Regions from separate parts of the Homo sapiens genome. Here region 1 is linked to region 2. The links are contacts of gene promoters, found by promoter capture Hi-C in blood cells and fetal thymus (Javierre and others, 2016). All regions are on one chromosome and are shown on one strand. Each heading gives the region's core, a stretch centred on a gene start or on the middle of the fragment in contact. The rest is flanking DNA. Distances are from core to core; before and after follow the strand shown. Region 1 has its middle 21 kb from the start of C22orf42. Region 2 holds the start of RFPL3S (RFPL3 antisense).

Region 1 (2,700 bases), core at 153-2,652, 230 kb before region 2:
AGTGAGTTTCGGTTGCACCTTTCTTTAGGACGGTCAGCTGGGTCTCTCTGCTAAACATCAAGCGCTGTGACACAGGCTCATACAAAAACTACTCCCTAGGACCCCCTATGCCCCCCTCCCCAGCCCCCACCTGCAGCTGTGGTGCAGGAAAGCTGAACCCCTGACTCCGGTGGGCATTTGCTCAGCAGGGTGTCCACAACTCTGCCTGCGCTTCTGAAGCTGAGATGAGACAGTCAGCCCCATGCATACAATGACAGGATGTCTGGAAATGCAGAGGCCCAAGGAAATTCATGTCTGGATCAGGTTTTCCCTTTGATTGTGGCCCAGGAATGGGAATGAGCTCCTGGGAGGGCGTTTGCTTCCCTAAGGAGTGAAGTGGCATGGAAGGGGACAGGGATTCTCTACGTTATAGGGTTGTGGTAACCCTGATCTCTTGGTGACCACAAAGTAAGAGCAGGGAGGCATCCTCAGGTATCCCCAATGCCCCAGAGTCTCAGCAGCCACGGGAAGGTCCAATCTGACCACAACCACAACTCCAGGGGTCTCACTTCCATCCTCTCTGGTGTTGCTTTAGCCTGTAGGCTGAAGATTAACCCCCACCCTAATCGCTTGTGCTATCTATAGATCACAGACAATGGTGTGGAGAAATACTTGCCTTGCTTACCCCCACCTAGTCATGTACCCCATGCTTGCTCAGTCTATCACGACCCTGTCACGTGGACCCCTTAGAGTTGTAAGCCCTTAAAAGGGCCAGGAACTCTTTCTTTGGGGAGCTCGGTTCTGTTCTTATGACGCAAGTCTGCTGACCTCCCGGCCTAATAAAGCCTCTTCCTTCTTTAACCCGGTGTCTGAGGAGTTTTGTCTGTGGCTCATCCTGCTACATTTCTTGGTTCCCTGACCGGGAAGTGAAGCAGCCCCTTAGGTGGCTTAGGCTTGCCCTGTGGAGCATCCCTGCAGGGGACTCTGGCCAGCTTGAGCTACGTGGATCCTGAGCATGCTCCTGGGTAGGCATTTGCCCCGGTGGAATGCCTTGTCAGAGCAGTGCATGGCAGGCCCCAGCAGAGGATCAATGCAGTGGCTGAGCACCGGGAGGGAACTGGCGCTTGGAGTCCGTATATCTGGAACATGGTAGGACTGGTCTTGGGAACTTGCCCACTCCATTTGAGTGGAAGCATGGCCTGATCACCCACAGAGTGCCTTTATCGGCACTTTGGTTTTGGTTTTGATTTTGACTTGGTTTGAATTCCTTGGCAAACGGGCGTGCCTTTGTCGGCACTTTGGTTTTGGTTTTGATTTTGACTTGGTTTGAATTACTTGACAAATGGGCGTGCCTTTATCGGCACTTTGGTTTTGGTTTCGATTTTGACTTGAATTGCTTGACAGGACCTGTCTTGGGAACTTGTCCACTCCATTTGAGTGGAAGCATGGCCTGATCACCCACAGCGTGCCTTTATCAGCACTTTGGTTTTGGTTTTGGTTTTGGTTTTGACTTGGTTTAAATTGCTTGACGAACGGGCGTGTCCTTTATCTGCACTTTGGTTTTGGTTTTGATTCTGATTTGGTGTGAATTCCTTGAACCCATTAACCCACGGGTGGCCCGAATGCATTCAGTCTGTAGCGGCAACTGCTTTGCTGACAGAAGAAAGTAGAAAAATAACTTTTAGAGGAAACCTCATTGTGAGCACACCTCACCAGTTCAGAAGTATCCTAAGTTAAAAAAAAAAAAGCAAAAAGGTAGCTTAATAACTCAAAAATCTTAAAGTATGGGGCTACTCCGTTAGAAAAAGATGATTTAACATAAACCCCTGAAAATTCCCTTAACCCAGAAGATTTCCTAACAGGGAATTTAAATCTTAATTACCATACAAAGATCCGACCAGACCTAGGAGGAACTACCTTCAGGACAGGATGATAGATAGTTCCTCCCAGGTGATTAAGGAGAAAAACCACAATGGGTATTTTGTAATTGAGGAAAACTCTTGTAGAAGTAGAGTTAGGAAAATTGCCTAATAATTGGTCTGCTCAACTTTGCCACCCAGCCAAGCCTTGAAGTACTTACAGAACCAGGAAAAAAAAAAGCCATCTATACCAATTCTAAGTTAATCTGGACTAAACAAAGTCTTATTAATAGCAAAGGATAATTGAAATCCCACACTTACAAGGTTTTCAACAAAAGTAAAGTTGTTTTGCTAAAAGTTAACAGTGTAACGTGTATGATAGTAACTTCTAATCTGTGGCCTTAGACAGTCTAGTCCACAGACCTGAAGGAAGTTTGCTTTGGAAAAGAATGGTTATCATCTTCGAAAAAAAGAAAAAAGAAAAAAAGTGGGGGTGCAGAATTTATATAAAAAGGAATGTTATATGGAAAATTCTTGTCCTGAAATAAATTAACTAGTTGTTTAAGGAAAGGGATGTTTCCAATAAGTCAGAAAGTTGAGACATGTCGAAGAATTGTCTGTGAAAATCATGAAAAAAAGTGTTAGAAAAAGAAATTTATGCAAGAAATGTTGTATAATTTAAATTAATTATCCTCCTGAATGTAAAACTGTTGAAGAAACAGTTTATGTGCAAGGTATATAAGGAAAGTAAAATATGCCTTTGGTAAAAGGATTATAAGGAAGCATAAGAATGTGGATTTTTACCTACATTAAAAGGTTACAAAAATTGTTTTGAAGGTTTAAGCAAGTTTTGAAACATTAA
Region 2 (2,700 bases), core at 3-2,502:
TAAGTGTGTTTTGTTTCACACACTGACACATAGACAATACACATTCTTACTTCTTTTCAAAAAGTTAATATGTGAATATAAATGACATATTCCAAATTTACTAAACTGAATACACATTTCATGAAAAAGGAGAGAGGAAAGACATACTAAAAACAGGCCAGGGCCTGGTGTGGTGGCTCACGCCTGTAACACCACCACTTTGGGAGGCCGAGGCAGGTGGATCACCTGAGGTCAGGAGTTCAAGACCAGCCTGGCCAACATGGTAAAACCTTGTCTCTACAAAAATACAAAAATTAGCCGGGCATGATGGTGGGTGCCTGAAATCCCAGCTATTCGGGAGGCTGAGGCGAGAGAATCATTTGAACCCGGGAGGCGGAGGTTGTAGTGAGCCGAGATCGCACCGTTGCACTCCAGCCTGGGCGACAGAGTGAGACTCCATCTCAAAAACAAACAAACAAACAAAAAAACAACAACAAAAGACAAAGATGGACACACTTCGTTGTGTTAAAAGCCTCAAAGACATCTGCATCATTCTAGCTTTGCTCCTAATTTTTAAAATTAATGATTTTAATAGGTTCTTAATTAGGTAAAAACTGCATTAAAACATACTTTGCCATATTTTTCCCAGAAGGATACCTAATTGGGTGGTTTGAGGGGTGCCAGATGTAACAGGAAATAAGACATGTCTTTTAAATAAAGGAAAAGCTCAAAGGCATCCTGCTTGATACTAGAATCAAATATATAAATTGAGGAATAAAACATAACCGGGAAACACATTTATAACTGCATATGAAAAATACAGAGGAGAATTTTTTAATAAAATATATTTTTAAATATTAACTAGTACATTTGAGAGGACAGCATTCAACAGGCCAATGTGAACATACCTTTAATGCAGGAACTCAGGTTCCCCATAAGAAAGACCAGAATCTGTGAAAATGACAGCAAGCATGTTCAACCTGCTATGAACTTTGAAAAACTCAGCACAGACAGTGGCAGTTAGGACCGAGGGCAAGATATACCCAATCACATAACCATGGTGATAGGAGCATCATCAACGTCTCAGGGTAAAGTCACAATGTGTATTGTGAGGTCCGCTTTCTGCTGCACCAACAAGAGTGCTTTCACACGCACAGGAGGGTCATTAAAGATTAGGCCTTTTACGGCAGGGAGTGGTGGCTCACACCTGTAATCCCAGCACTTTGGGAGGCCGAGGTGGGTGGATCACGAGGTCAGGAGATAGAGACCATCCTGGCTAACATGGTGAAACCCCGTCTGTACTAAAAACACAAAAAATTAGCCGGGCGTGGTGGCGGGAGCCCCCAGCTACTCGGGAGGCTGACGCAGGAGAATGGCGTGAACCCGGGAGGCGGAGCTTGCAGTGAGCCGACATAGCGCCACTGCACTCCAGCCTGGGCGACAGAGCGAGACTCCGTAAAAAAATAAAATAAAATAAAATAAAATAAAAGATTAGGCGTTTTACTTAAAAAAAAAACAACAAAACCCAAGCTCATTAATTACTATTCTGTGCTTATTAAAATAAGTTTTAGGAGGAGAAATTGTGTACCCCAAAATACACTCAATGGCAAGAATTTCAAACTGAGCAGGGGCAAAACCGATATGTTAGTAACAACCAGAAGTTCCATTCTCGATTCGAAATTCCATTGCCAAATATTTCTACCATTCCTGAGTCATCTAATATTTCTAGAACCAATAAGCAAACTGTTCAGAATTAAAGACAGCATAAATGGATATTGTTATAAAAGTCATGTTTCTTAAAAAGTGACATTTTTTAAAGTCACATTTTAAAAGTCATATTTCCCTAAAAAGTCATATTTCTACCATTCCTGAGTGATCTAATGTTTCTAGAAGCAATAAACTGTTCAGAATTAGAAAAAAGTGTTACTTGATATTATAAAAATCATATTTCTCTCACAATATAATTATGAAACTTATTTTTCCACTTATCTCTATATATTACTATGCACTTATTTATCTCCCAAACTTTGTGAATTCACAGAGGAATTTGTCTACCATTGTGTATGTAAACGGCTGGCCATTCACTGAGTATTTAAAGGAAAAAAAAATCACTATATTTTCACCAGTGCATCTTCTCGGTGGGGTGAACACTTTGGGTGAATACATATAATTTTTTATTTGAGACAGGGTCTCACTCTGTCACTCAGGCTGGAGTGCAGTGGCTTGATCATGGCTCACTGCAGCCTTGACCTCCCAGGCTCAGGTGATCCTCCCAACTCAGCCTCCCATGTAGCTGGGACTACAGGTTCTTGCCGCCATGCTCAGCTAATATTTTGTAGAGATGGGGTTTTTCCATGGTGCCCAGGCTGGTCTTCAACTCTTGGATTCAAGCAATCCACCCACCTCGACCTCCCAAAGTATTGGGATTAGAGGCGTGAACCACCATGCCCAGCCTAATACATATAATTAAAGTGTTTCTGAATGCAGAATTTTAGATAACTTTCAAAATGTATAACTACGTGTGTATTCTGGCTGATACATAACACCCAATTGCAAATACTTTTATGATATGCCCAAGAAAACAAGCTGTTGAAAGTGACCTGCCCTAAAATAAATAGAACAAATGAAAATTTTAGGGTTAAGATGAGAGAGTTGCTATGTTTCAAAGAGAATAGGTACCCTTCATGATATAAATATTACAGTACAAATGTCTATCATTGC

Evidence for each region. The method cuts DNA at HindIII sites, captures the fragments that hold promoters and counts their contacts. A CHiCAGO score of 5 or more calls a contact.
Region 1: a fragment that was not itself captured here is called in contact with the fragment with the promoter of RFPL3S in region 2 in 1 of 17 cell types (endothelial precursors); the score reaches 5.2 in endothelial precursors.

What each region holds. Positions count from the first base shown.
Region 1 is chr22:32,136,785-32,139,484 of GRCh38, forward strand. No RefSeq gene overlaps it. Among named protein-coding and RNA genes, the nearest start is that of C22orf42, 21 kb to the right of the region's middle. The HindIII fragment of the contact is 8,725 bases long and covers 1-2,700 here.
Region 2 is chr22:32,370,012-32,372,711 of GRCh38, forward strand. It overlaps RFPL3S (RFPL3 antisense), which reads right to left and starts at 1,253. Exons shown (of 5, transcript NR_104232.1): 1 at 1,187-1,253; 2 at 888-930. The HindIII fragment of the contact is 20,480 bases long and covers 1-2,700 here.